Linked DNA regions of Homo sapiens: regions 1, 2, 4 and 5 are each linked to region 3. Evidence: promoter capture Hi-C in 16 types of primary human blood cells and fetal thymus (Javierre and others, 2016). All regions are on one chromosome and are shown on one strand. The core of a region is centred on a gene start or on the middle of the fragment in contact, and the rest is flanking DNA. Distances in the headings are between cores, read along the strand shown.

Region 1 (2,700 bases), core at 29-2,528, 570 kb after region 3:
CGGGTTCACAGGTTCACACCATTCTCCTGCCTCAGCCTCCCGAGTAGCTGGGACTACAGGCGCCCACCACCACGCCCGGCAAATTTTTTTTCATATTTTGAGTAGAGACGGGGTTTCACTGTGTTAGCCAGGATGGTCTCAATCTCCTGACCTCGTGATCTGCCCGCCTCGGCCTCCCAAAGTGCTGGGATTACAGGCGTGAGCCACCACCCCTGGCCTATACTGAGATTATTTATTCAACATTACAAATTCTGCAAACTTCTTTTAAACTTACTTGAAAAAGCTTCACATTTATAAGACAAAAATTGTACAAAAATTTATCTATACACTTTACCTAAAGTCTCAAAGAGTTTTTAAAATTGTGGTAAAATATACACAACACAAAATTTACCATTTTAACTATTTTTAAATGTACAGTTCCGTGGCTTTACCCATTTTGAAGGGCACAGTTCAGTGGCACTGAGTACATTCAAATCATTGTGCAGCCATCACCACCATCCATCTCTAGAACCTTTTCATCTTCCAAACTGAAATTCTGTAACAAAGCCATTTTTCAATGGCTTCATATTATTCCATCAGATGGAGAACCAATAATTTAATCAGTTCCTTATTCTTTGACTTTTGGCCTGTTCATTTTTTTGCTATTATAAATAATGTCATATGAAGTTCTAAAGTAGGCAAAATAAATCTGTGCAATAGAGGTCATAATAGTGTTTACTCTTGGTGAAGGGAGGGTACTGAGAATATCCCTCTGGATGCTAGAAATGTTCTATGTCTAGATCTGGAGATACTTTCATGATGTATTTGCATGTAGAAGTTCATCAAGCTGTTGACTTAAGATCTTGCACTTTACTGATGACAAGATATACCTCAATTTAAAAATCTACATAAAAATAATGCTATAATAAACATTTTAACATTAATTCTTTAGGATAAATGCTAAAAAGCAGAATTATGAGGCCAAAAGGTATGAATAGTCTTAAGGTCTTGTTATCCACTTCCAAATGCCTTTCTAGAAAAATTGCCTCTACTCACAATTCCACAGACCACCAGGAATGGATCTTAAAAAAAAAATCTTTGCCAAGCTGATAACTGATTATCTCACTATTCTTTCAATTGGCTTTTATTAGTGAATTTCTTAAAATATAAATATTCTTTTTGAGATGGGGGCCTCACTATGTTGTCCAGGCTGGTCTCAAACTCCTGGGCTTAGCGATCCTCCTGAGCAGGTGGGATTACAGGCATGTGCCATGGTGCCTGGCTTTTTTCTTTTTTTGTACAAATATTCTTTTTTAAAAAACATAAAAAATGATGAGTTCATATCCTTTGTAGGGACATGGATGAAATTGGAAACCATCATTCTCAGTAAACTATCGCAAGAACAAAAAACCAAACACCGCATATTCTCACTCATAGGTGGGAATTGAACAATGAGATCACATGGACACAGGAAGGGGAATATCACACTCTGGGGACTGTGGTGGGGTCGGGGGAGGGGGGAGGGATAGCATTGGGAGATATACCTAATGCTAGATGACACAGTAGTGGGTGCAGCGCACCAGCATGGCACATGTATACATATGTAACTAACCTGCACAATGTGCACATGTACCCTAAAACTTAGAGTATAATAAAAAAAAAAAAAAAACCATGATCTGTATGTTACTGTTAATCCACTTTTTATTAATCGGTCAGCACCCTTCATGATTAAGGATTTTATTCATTCATTCATTCATTTATTCATTCATTTATTTATTTTGAGACAGAGTCTCCCTCTGTTGCCCAGGCTGGAGTGCAGTGGAGTGATCTCGGCTCACTGCAACCTCTGCCTCCTGGGTTCAAGCAATTCTCCTGCCTCAGCCTCCTGAGTAGCTGGGACTACAGGCATGTACCACCGAGCCCGGCTAATTTTTGTATTTTTAGTAGAGAGGGGATTTCACCATATTGGCCAGGCTGGTCTCGAACTCCTTACCTTGTGATCCACCCACCTCAGCCTCCCAAAGTGCTGGGATTACAGGCGTGAGCCACCGCGTCTGGCCGATTAAGGATATTAATCATTTCTCATATTTGCTCCAAGTGTATTTCCTAGTTTTTAATTATCTTCACTTGTGTTTATTTTTGAGTAGCTATGTTTTGAAGTTTTATGTAGTCAAATCTGTTCGCTATTTCCTTTGTTTCATCCTATCACTTTTTTACTTCATATGTCCTTACTCATCTAGAAAGCAATTAAATATTCACTTGTTCCTCTTCTTTTTAAAATGGTTCCAAGCTTTTATATACAACTTTTTTTTTTTTTTTTTTTTTTTTTTTTTTTTTTTAATAGAGAAGGGTCTCACTCTATCATCCAGGCTGGAGTGCAGTGGTACGATGATAGCTCACTATAGCCCTGACCTCTGGGGCTCAAGCAATCCTCCTGCCACAATCCTCTTGCCTCAACCTCCCAAAGTGCTGGGATTACAGGCGAGAGCCACCACACACAGCCCTACTCAACTCTTAAATACAGGCAGAACATACTTGGTATCTTATGGTGTACGGTGAAGACGAAGACCTAATTTAAGTCATTTCCCAGCCTCATTTATTAAATGATTTAATCTCTCCCTCATCAGTTTGTGATGCTTCTTTATCAATCTGTTTCTCTTAAACTGATCTGATGGCTGATTCTTGCACATGTATGTTTTAATTATTGTACTGCTATAAAGT
Region 2 (2,700 bases), core at 178-2,677, 520 kb after region 3:
ACTGGCACCAATATTAGTTAAGTACGTCTTTGCTAATGTGACAAATGAAAATGGGACCCCTCTGTTTCAGCTTCCAGCAGAACATTTCCATCATCACAGCGGCTGGACATTACAGCCTGAGCTCCTTCCCTCTGGCATGATGGCTAGCCATTTGTAGATCAAATGAGTGAGTGATCAGAGATGGCTGATCACTCACTCTGGAGTCCCAAGACATCAGGGTGAGCAGAGCCTCCTGATAACGGGTGATGGACATGTAGCAGAGGTGAGAAATAAGCTTTTGTGGCTTTGAAGCCAATACACTTTGGGAGTTACTCATGCTTGTCTTTTTAAATAAAAAAATCAAAGCATAATCTGGACCTTCTAGCCTGTTCCACTTTATATTTACTCTAATTACCATTAGTATTTAAGCATTTAAAAATTTGTTTTACTACCTAATAAGGAAGTTTTCGACAACCCGTTGTTAGCCATGCTTTCCTGTTTATTCCACAAGGTGAAGAATATTTTCCAAAGATCATTTTGTCTGGATACACTCTCTTCTTGTTGGCATCTTGATCAGAATTGTATTAAGCCAGTTCATTTATTTGGGAAGATCTGGCATTCAACGATATTCAGCTTTCCAACCCAGGACTGTGGTCTGTCTCTCCATTTGCTGGAGTCTCCTTTAAGCCCAGCTTCCTCACATGCCTGCGTGCTGAGCAGTGCTGTGTGGAGAAAAATAAGCAGCAATGAGAGAAAACTGAGGACAACATAGTGACTTTTATAAAGCAAAACTAATTTCTTTTAAAGAACTGTACTTTATCCTGTGATTCCCTCCCCCACTACTCAGAGTTGAAATGGCGTTTTACAAAAAAACTATGTTAGATATATTTTTTTCTTGTTTCTAAATGCATAAGTTGATGAAATGTATTTTGGAAATTTTACTGATCTGTGAAATCTCAAAGTCTGGATTAGAATTTTCAATAGGTCTTTATTACACAGGTCACCTCTATTTTGTTAGGGATTTTGCATTGGGGTTGCTATTGTGTATGGGGATTTTCCCATTCTATTTATATAGTTCTTTATAACATAAAGCCTTCAGTGTTATTCAACAACTATCTATTGAGCACCTTTGAACAAAGCATGTTCCCTACACTGGGAGGCTCATAATCCTAACCAGGGACATAGGAAGATAGTTGATGATTACAAAGTTGTTGTATAGAGAAGCTGTCACAGAAGCAAGAGAAGGGCTCTCAGCCAATGGGAGATCAGAAAGCATTTCCAAGAGGTGCTGGTGCTCAAATTGAGTGACAACAAGGCACCCAGAAAATGTTTTGCTGAATGACTGCTGCACACTCAAAAAGACTTGGTATTTTGATAATGAATTTTTGTCTCCTGTAGAATCCTAGATATGAGTAAGGGTGGTATTTGTGGAGTCTTTTTTAATGAAGGCACAGATCACCTAATTCCTTTCTGCCTTCCATTCACAAATTACCAAATTGCAAAGAAAGTATCTCTTTACCATCAATTTCTTTCTACTTCAACTTTGGGCCAGACTCAAAACATTTATAATTGCCAGGATAGAAAAAGTGTTGCTATTTTTGTGATCTGGGGCTAAGGCATATCTTCACGTATTTTTTGTTTTTATTTTTTCTTGAGACGGAGTTTCGCTCTTGTTGCCCAGGCTGGAGTGCAATGGCGCGATCTCGGCTCACTGCAACCATTGCTTCCTGGTTCAAGCGATTCTCCTGCCTCAGCCTCCCGAGTAGCTGGGATTACAGGCATGTGCCACCATGTCCAGCTAATTTTGTATTTTCAGTAGAGATGGGGTTTCTCCATGTTGGTCAGGCTGGTCTCCAACTCCTGACCTCAGGTAATCTGCCCACCTCGGCCTCCCAAAGTGTTGGGATTACAGGCGTAAGCCACTGCGCCTGGCCCATATACTTTGTAAATGTAGAAAATTAAGCTGCATTCCCCAACGTGGGACAAAAGAATGGAGAAAAATAACACGAGAAGCCAATCTCCTGTGGTGTGCTGCTTTCTGCCTAAACACTTATCTGCTACTTGCCCTCTCTGGGCCAGTCTCCTCTCTCTCTTTTTTTTTTTTTTTTTTGAGATGGAGTCTCGCTCTGTCACCCAGGCTGGAGTGCAGTGGCACGATCTCACTCACTGCAAGCTCCGCCTCCCAGGTTCATGCCATTCTCCTGCCTCAGCCTCCCGTGTAGCTGGGACTACAGGCGCCCACCACAATGCCTGGCTAATTTTTTGTATTTTTAGTAGAGACGGGGTTTCACCGTGTTAGCCAGGATGGTCTCGATCTCCTGACCTCGTGATCCGTCTCTGGGCCAGTCTGTTAACGGACTTGATTACCTTCTGTCCATTAAATACTCCAAAACCCTATTTTCAACTGCTCACTGGACACATTTCAACCTGGACAAACTTCTTGGTCATTCTTTAAGACCCACCTCCTCAGTTGCCAACCATGCCAGTCACTCCATGACCCTCTAAAAACCCCACCCACACCTTGGGACACTGTGGTCATTGTTTGTGTGGCTGTTTTCCCCACTAAGTCATGAGGTCATAGAGGACAAAGGCCAAGCTTTCTTCTTTTGTATTTACAATTATAACCAAAGGAAAAACTTTTTTTGAACAATCAGCTAAGGTTGCATCTGTCAACATTTTCTTCCCTTAAAAATATTAATTTAGGCAATGCTTTCTGAACTT
Region 3 (2,793 bases), core at 96-2,595:
TCCACTCTTACTGTTAACACAGCCCCAGAGATTTTACTTTTACAAATAAATTCTATCTTTGTCTTACATTCGTGATTTCCTTCCACTTCTGACATGTCTTACAGCTGAAGGATTCAAGAAATGGTGTAGCACAAGCCAACCCTCGTCTCAGTTCTGAGATGAGTGGGTAAAATGTGAAAGGAAAGAAAGAAATGCAAGGCACAGAGGTGGAACATGGTTTTGCTGAGCCCATTCTCCTTTCATAAATCACACACAGGATCCAGGTGCTAATGTGAATGTTGAAATAAGCAGATTTAGCAAGAACTGCTGCTTTGGCTTTTTTATATCCAGAACTAAAAAAGAACTGAACCATGTAGTTATCATTTGAGGTTTACTAACTATACCAGCAATATTGCCTCCAAGCTGTGTTGCCTGGTGTTTCTCTTAGAAATGCTAAGTTGCTTGGGCAATGGTTTAAGGAGGGTGTCTATACCTTAGTGATTTATTTTGGTAATTCTCAAACTTTTCAATACAAAAATCTCCTTTTCTAAAAAGAATTTATAGTGTCTGATATTCACCTAGGGACATATATTTTGAAAGCTATTGCTTACAAAGACAGGATATTGATTTAAATAATAAACAATTCTATTTTATTTATTTATTTATTTAGAGACGGAGTTTCACTCTTGTTGCCCAAGCTGGAGTGCAATGGCGCGATCTCGGCCTCCCAGGTTCAAGCGATTCTCCTGCCTCAGCCTCCCGAGTAGCTGGGATTACAGGCGCGTGCCAGCACGCCCAGTTAATTTTTTTGCATTTTTAGTAGAAACGGGGTTTCATCATGTTAGCCAGGATGGTCTCGAACTCCTGACTTCAGGTGATCTGCCCGCCTCGGCCTCCTAAACTGCTGGGATTACAGGCATGAGCCACCGCGACCGGCTTTCAAAAATGTTTAATTGTACAATATCCTCCTCCTTTGCTTTTTTTTTTGTTGTTGTTCTTGGTGTTGGGAAGTCAGGACGTGGGATGGGAGACAATATTCTGAAGAAAATGCATCTCGTGTCCCTTTCAGGCTTGAGCAGCCCACCTCTCTACACCTGGAGGCGCTTTTCCTGATGGCTGTCCAAGTCTAGCGGCGCGCGCACTTAACCCCTCCCTCCCGTCTAGCCCCGCCCCTCAACTCCTGTCCGCTAGAGTCGTCCTGCCCAAGACCAGGGCGGGTTCTCGCTGCAATCCCACAATCGGCCACAGGGAGGGGACGGTGGCTGTAGAAGCCGAAGGGCCTTCCCCTAAGTAGGAGGTGGCGGAAGCGGAAAAGGCGGGACCTAGGGAGCACGTTACGTCCGGACGCGTCGGTGGTAGGGCTGGGTCTCCGAACCTGAAACCGGGAGCTTCCTGCTCGTGTTCGCTGTTGAGAAGCTACCCGCGGGGTTGTAGACCTCGGACCTCATGGCAGAGATAATTCAGGAACGCATAGAAGATCGGCTCCCGGAATTGGAACAGCTGGAGCGCATTGGACTGTTCAGTCATGCGGAGATTAAGTGAGAGAGGGTTGGGGAGAGGGAAGAGCTGAGGCGGCCTGAGGGGAGGTTGGGAGTGTGTGGCAGGGGCTAGATGTGGGGACGCTCGACCTGTGTTTACTTTTCCTAACGTGGTGGAAGCCCATTTCTCGTTTTCGGTGATGTCCAGAATTAATTTTTCATTCGTTGCAAGGTAATCCGTCCGTCTACTTACCCATCAGACGTTTTGACAGCCCTTCATGGAGCCGGGTCTTAGGGCTGTAAAGGTGATAAACCCAGGATTCCTGCTCATTAGGAGCTAATTGGGCAGAGTGTGGTGGGGGAGACAGACAAATTAAATATTTTGATAACAGTGTACTGTAAGTTGATTGTAGTACCTTGTACTGCTGTAGGGATGGGAACAGAGTGCTGTGAGAGCCCAGGGGGAGTGGATAAATTCCTAACTAGACTTGAAGGTGGGGACCATTGAAATCAGTTTCATATGCTACTCCAGAGCCTAACTACAGCGCCTGGCACATGGTAGACATTCAGTAGCGTGTTAAAATTATGTTTAATAGTTTTTAATGGTTTCTGTGACTGTTGCTTTGTTTTGCAACGTCTGAATGTAGTAATGTGACTCAGAGCTTCAAAGTAAGCATTCGTTAATGAAACACAAAACAAAGCAGTGTGGACGCTTAGAAAGTGCTCAGTTAAGGTTAATGTTACCATTACTAAAGACACCTGTCTTGCACATCTTGCATTAAATTCTCCTAATATATATTTGTCATATGTTCATTCCTTAGCTAAGGACTCTGAATCTTCTCCCGTAAGTCCTTCGTAGTAATAAGTCTTTTAAGGCAGACGCAATTTAGATTTTTAAAAAAATTTACATGTTGAGAACTCAGAAATAAGAGGAATTTCGGAAAGAAATTTATTATTAAAATTTAAGTGACCTGAACTTGGAGTAAAAGAAGTCTTTATTAATACCAGCCAGGCGCTGTGGCTCACGCCTGTAATCCCAGCACTTTGGGAGGCCGAGGTGGGTGGATCACGAGGTCAGGAGTTCGAGACCAGCCTGGCCAATATGGTGAAACCCCGTCTCTACTAAAAATACAAAAATTAGCTGAGCGTGGTGGTGAGCGCCTGTAGTCCCAGCTACTCGGGAGTCTGAGGCAGGAGAATCGCTTGAACTCGGGAGGCCGAGGTTGTAGTGAGCCAAGATCATGCCACTGCACTCCAGCCTGGGCGACAGAGCGAGAAAAAAACAAACAAAAAAAACACCATACATAAATGGTATAAAGTTCTTAATTGTATTTGC
Region 4 (2,700 bases), core at 106-2,605, 540 kb after region 3:
TTACTTGTAAGGCGACTGACAAATGTGGAAATAAAATTTGTTTCCTCTGCTGACCAAAGCTTTGTTGTTAAGCAGAATTTAATAGAATATAGTTAATTACATAATAGTTTATAATATGAATTGGGTATTGCCAAATTCTTCAGAACCTTCAAAATTACATAAGTTGAAATGTTCATGCAAAACTGAGATCATAAACTGGGAATTCTATTTATTGATCTTGAATATCACAGAATAGTTATGTCATTGGATTTTTTTTAAATTTATGCTAACACTTAAAAGAACTATATATAGTAACTTTTCCTTATACAATGATGTGTTTCATAAGTGAACTTTTCAGATAATGGAACGTTAAACAACTAAAGTTTCTTTTATTTTTAACCATTTTAGAAGAATATCTTTCTAAATAGAAAACACAACCATAACAAAAGCTTTCCTTCATTACTCACTGTCATAATAACACACACAATAGTTTAAGTTCTATAATGAATAGCACCTCCAGGGTCAACCAGAGTTGTATGAAACCATTCACTATGACACTGAATAAGTCCAGAGTTCTGTAGGTTTGCCATTTCTCCCACCTTGTTTATCTCAGTCCCACTGGAGCTATTAGCTATTAGTATTTCTCAGTGTATTCAAATCTAAGTTGCATTACGAATTGGTATATATATGCTTATGGGCTTTAAGATGTTATTTTCTTGAGATGAATTTTTTGTTTGATTATTTATTTACTTCCAGATTTTCAGGATGGTCTATGGATGGTTGAGTTATTGCTGGCAGCAGGAAAGTGAGGTACCTAATAGATTTTGTGTTTCTTCTTCTTCTTCTTTTTTTTTTTTTTTTTTTTTTTTTTTGATATAGTATGCTGTATCAGAGACAGAGAAAGAGGCCCTTAGGGCAATGTTAGTATATCTAGTAAATAAATTATAGTTCTGTTCACTTACAGAATAATGTGTTTTAAGTTCCTCTTCCTGCCCAAACTCTACAAACTTGTCAACCTTGGAATATCATGTGGACATTTTAACATTTTACTGTCTTATGTACAACTTGTTTGAAAGTAGAAAGCTTCATAGAATAACAAAAGTCAAGTCAGTTACAAGGTAAAGAAGAAATGTAAGGTGAATCTCATAAGAAAAAGGAGCAAAATTTGCTATAAACTGATCACAAGGGAATTCCTAATGTTGGTGTCTTATATTGTTGCTCAAAGTCATATAAAGATCACATTTACTGACCTGGGGAATGCTGGGAAGTTGCAAGTGAGGTCATGGAATTAGAAAGGTTAAGGTTGGCAGTGATACTAAGCTGGCTCTGCAGTGCAGGAGGGTAAGGAGATGTGGGAGTCAGGAGGGATTCTTCACTGGTTTCTTCATCAATTCCAGGCAGGTACGTGTCAATCAAGGCATCAAGAAACTTAACAATAAGCTCAGCATAGTCTGGAATTTGTGTTTGCTGTAATGGAAAATAGGAAATTATTTTAGTTCCTTTTTTTTAAGTAAATCCCCATCTGAAGCCAAAAATATTAATTTTGTTTGGACTTAATTTACTATTTTTCTTCCTTTGTATTACTTATCATTAAAAAAGGGGAGTGGAGTAATATTTATAGACTACCATAGGACTTACAACAGGGAGTTCTATTCAGCTTAAAGCTTCCAGATGAACCTGCATTTTCTGAAAGCCATGCACAAGACAGACTGAATGTAATACTGAGACAATACAATCACCAGGAATGATGTCTAGCCAATTTTCCAAAACAGAGAAAATGAGCAGAGCATCATCATTCCAGCTGCCATTTAGATTCCACTCACTAGACACTGTAAAGGGCTCAGAGGGTTACTGGCAATCCAAATGCAAAAACTTCTGTATGATATACTTATTTCTGTAACTTCAGGCCCATTTTTTAAGTGACAACCTTTGCATGTTGACAGATATTCAAGTAATAGTGAAAGGAAATAAATAAAATACCCAATTCTTAAAAACTGGAACAAGGTTTATACAATTCATATTGATTTAGCACCCCCTGTATCTAAAACACTGCACCAGGAACTGTTTAAGGAAGAAACAGAAACCCTGTCTTCAAGGAACTTTGATCAATTTGGAGAGAGCCCACATACAGAGAAAATGATCATATACATCTTATGTAGCACTACATAAACTAATGCCAATCAAAAAACAAACTGAGGCCAGGTGCGGTGGCTCATGCCTGTAATCCCAGCACTTTGGGAGGCCGAGGTGGGCAGATCACGAGGTCAAGAGATCAAGACCATCCTGGCCAACATGGTGAAACCCTGTTTCTACTAAAAATACAAAAATTAGCTGGGCGTGGTGCTGCATGCCTGTAGTCTCAGCTACTCGGGAGACTGAGGCAGGAGAATCGCTTGAACCTGGGAGGCAGAGGTTGCAGTGAGCCAAGATTGCGCCACTGCACTCCAGCCTGGAGACAGAGTGAGACTCCGTCTCACAAAACAAACAAACAAACAAAAAAACTGAATAAGAGCAAATGAGGACAAATCCAGAGAGAAATTAATCTAATCTAATAGGCTGGAAATAAAAATGTTTTCATGAAATAGATTTTAACCATGGTAATGCTCCTTGCTAGTCATAAGATATCTAACTGTGTGCATTAAGATTATCAAATACACAAGGGACTGTGGCAGAAAAGTATCACAGAGGTTTATCATACTCTTCTGAAAAATTGATCATAAG
Region 5 (2,700 bases), core at 22-2,521, 810 kb after region 3:
TGGCTCTGAAGCAGTTTCTCACTTTCCTTTCACCCTTCTCCCCTTTACTCCCCAACATTCTCACTCGAGAATGCATCACATCCTCAGACCGCTGGCAAAAAAAAAAGGGGGGGGGGAAGAGACTGCAATTATCAAGGAAGGGGAAGATATTTCAGAACCACGGTTTCCACTGCAAACGGCAATAAAAAAAAAAGGCAGTCTGTGTCATCAGGATATGGGGGACGACGTTGTAGGGCATCACAAAGATGTGCAGTGAGTGTGCACTTGAAGCTCTCGGGGCAGGATGAGACGATGGAGCAGAAAGTAAGAAAACCTGTGCCTTCCTTGCTTTCTTCTGCTCTTCCCCCTCCAGGAGAGGAAGCTGAAGAAACTGGGGGAGGGGCGGAATGTTATCGTTCTCCTATTGAGGGTATATAAGACAGGCCTTAGGGTTCGCTCGTCCCCAGTTAGGAGGGTCACGGAGGGAAGAGGAAGAGAGAACCCCTAAACGTTACCCACCTCTGCTCAAAAACAAAAGTAAGGGGGTAATTATTAAATCCAGATGGCGCGCCCCTAAAGGCGCCCCCAGGTCACTCATCCCCATTTCCAAGCGGAAGGGCTGGGATAAAGGGGATGGAGGGTCGGAGGCTGGTCAGGGACAAGGCCCCACCCCCCGACTTAGGAGGGAAAGGGTGCCCAAGCTCCCAGCTGTCCCCTCCTACCCCTCACCTCCCGCCTTGGCCACCCCCACTTATCCCCCCTTCCCTTCTCTTCCCTTCCCTTCCTTTCCTCCAGAGCCTGAGGCAGCCGCGGGGGAGGCGGCCGCTCCTACCTCCCCTCACCTACTCTGTCCCCACCCCCACTCCGCTCCCACCTCCCGCCCGCCACGGGCCGGTTACCTGCTCGTCGAAGCGGCTGACCACGGCCTGGACCCATTCCACCGGCCTGTGCGCGGCCATGTCCTCCCCGCGGCCGGGGGGCGGCGGAGGGAAGGGTGGGCCGGCGCCCTGGGCCGGGAAGAGGGCGGGGAGCGGAGGCTGAGGTGAGGGAAGAGGCAAGGAGAGGGTCTGTGGAGTGCAGGCTCCCAGTGTTCCCACGGGGGTGGGGATGGGGGGTCAGCGCCGAGCGGGAGGGGGAGAGGGAAAGGGGGCGTTGGCAAGGAGGCTGGGGGGAGGGGGATAGGGGAAGGGGACCCGGGGAGGGGAGGGGGCCTCTTGGTCGCTCTCCCCACTAGCGCCGTCTCCCCACAGCCATCACAGTCCGAGACGCCGCCATGACACCCCACCGGAAGTGGGATCCTTTCCACGGCCCGGGGAGAGGGAGCGCGAGCGAGCTAGAGATTGAGAGCGCGGCTGGGAAAGGGGAGGGGGAAGCGAGAGGGAAGGCGGCCTGCCGCGCATGCGCCCGCGCCGGCCGGTTTCATTAATGAAAAAGCGAGTCCTCCTGGAGGTGACGTCATCTAACTCCTCTGGGCCGTCTGGCGAGCGTCCCTCACCGCCGTGGGGCTCACCTAGACTGGCGCTGGGCTCAGCTGGCGAGTGCCAGAGCTGACCCGGGAGCATCCACTCCCATCCCCACCGCCCCCTACAGCTGTCCCCTCCCCCGCCGGCCTCCGGGTTTGGATTGCTCCCGGAGTTGGAAGTTAGGGCGCCCTGGGGCTAGCCTTTCTCCCAGCGCGCGGATCTCTGCCGCTAATCTCCTGGGGAGGCTGTGCTCTCAGCTTAAGCTCTCAGAAAAAATAAGGTACACGACCTCCGATTTTCAGGTTCTTCGTAGCTTGGTAGACTGCTGAGAAACAAAAAAGGAAGGCCAAAGAGAGATTCCGTGATTTTTTTTTTTTAGAGGTCGCTTAAATCCCAATGCTAGACCCGGTGGCAATCAAGGTCTAGCCACCAGGTCTAGCATTGGGATTTAAGCCCAGCTTTCCTCTGCAAAACTCATAGCCATCCAAGTTAATATAACTATTGCACAGTTGATGAGAGATTCAAGTTTCACCACCCTCAAAACACCTTTAAGGCCTTGCATTCATTATTAATTCAATATATTCATCGTCTTATTTAAATCCTTGAACAAACCTTTTCAATACATATCATTAACTTCATGAACTGATGAATACGTCACGTCCCCACCCCCGTGGGAACGCTGGGAGCCTGCACTCCTCCCTCAGACCTTTGATTTGCCCAAGGTCTGAGTTGACAGGTGGCAAAGTCAGGATGTAAACCAACGTGGTTTAACTCCTAGAACAATAGAGGTAGACTATGGGTCTCCTAAAACAAAGTCCTTCCCTATACCTCCAATACCAGAGTTGAAAGGATTTCATGTGTAATTGGGTTGTGCCAGTTTTCCAGGAAGAGGATTACATCCAAAACAACGGATAATCTATGTCTGACATTGGACTTTGGAATGACTAATTTTTTTTTTTTTTTTTTAAGACAGAGTCTCACCCTGTCACCCAGGCTGGAGTGCAGAGGCGCGATCTCGGCTCACTGCAACCTCCGCCTCCCGGTTGAAGTGATTCTTCTGCCTCAGCCTCCCGAGTAGCTGGGACTACAGGCATGCGCCACCACAGCCGGCTAATTTTTGTATTTTTAGTAGAGACGGTGTTTCACCATATTGGCCAGGCTGGTCTTGAACTCCTGACCTCATGATCCGCCCACCTCAGCCTCCCAAAGTACTGGGATTACAGGTGTGAGCCACCGCACCTGGCCTGGAATGAGTAAT

The links. Contacts are between HindIII fragments. The CHiCAGO score rates a contact against its expected background, and 5 or more counts as called.
Region 1: a contact is called between a fragment that was not itself captured here and the fragment with the promoter of UTP6 in region 3, in 1 of 17 cell types (neutrophils). The highest score is 5.4, in neutrophils.
Region 2: a fragment that was not itself captured here is called in contact with the fragment with the promoter of UTP6 in region 3 in 3 of 17 cell types (M2 macrophages, M1 macrophages and M0 macrophages); the score reaches 8.5 in M2 macrophages.
Region 4: a fragment that was not itself captured here is called in contact with the fragment with the promoter of UTP6 in region 3 in 1 of 17 cell types (M2 macrophages); the score reaches 5.5 in M2 macrophages.
Region 5: a contact is called between the fragment with the promoter of NF1 here and the fragment with the promoter of UTP6 in region 3, in 1 of 17 cell types (erythroblasts). The highest score is 6.2, in erythroblasts.

What each region holds. Positions count from the first base shown.
Region 1 is chr17:31,331,523-31,334,222 of GRCh38, reverse strand. All of the region lies in intron 39 of NF1 (neurofibromin 1), which reads right to left. Among named protein-coding and RNA genes, the nearest start is that of EVI2A, 11 kb to the right of the region's middle. The HindIII fragment of the contact is 1,986 bases long and covers 286-2,271 here.
Region 2 is chr17:31,379,874-31,382,573 of GRCh38, reverse strand. No RefSeq gene overlaps it. Among named protein-coding and RNA genes, the nearest start is that of RAB11FIP4, 10 kb to the left of the region's middle. The HindIII fragment of the contact is 2,301 bases long and covers 277-2,577 here.
Region 3 is chr17:31,900,260-31,903,052 of GRCh38, reverse strand. UTP6 (UTP6 small subunit processome component) reads left to right here and starts at 1,345. Exons shown (of 19, transcript NM_018428.3): 1 at 1,345-1,517. The coding sequence starts at 1,426. RefSeq lists enhancers at 1,351-1,400, 1,086-1,677, 1,721-1,870. The HindIII fragment of the contact is 12,725 bases long and covers 1-2,793 here.
Region 4 is chr17:31,359,233-31,361,932 of GRCh38, reverse strand. NF1 (neurofibromin 1) reads right to left here. Exons shown (of 58, transcript NM_001042492.3): 57 at 1,230-1,446. Among named protein-coding and RNA genes, the nearest start is that of RAB11FIP4, 31 kb to the left of the region's middle. The HindIII fragment of the contact is 581 bases long and covers 1,065-1,645 here.
Region 5 is chr17:31,093,548-31,096,247 of GRCh38, reverse strand. NF1 (neurofibromin 1) reads right to left here and starts at 1,271. Exons shown (of 58, transcript NM_001042492.3): 1 at 879-1,271. The coding sequence starts at 938. It overlaps MIR4733HG (MIR4733 host gene), which reads left to right and starts at 758. Exons shown (of 4, transcript NR_186435.1): 1 at 758-1,021. It overlaps MIR4733 (microRNA 4733), which reads left to right and starts at 1,823; the gene lies at 1,823-1,898. RefSeq lists silencers at 867-916, 957-1,026, cis regulatory regions at 882-1,192, 1,419-1,658, an enhancer at 1,261-1,278 and a promoter at 1,266-1,691. The HindIII fragment of the contact is 8,302 bases long and covers 1-2,700 here.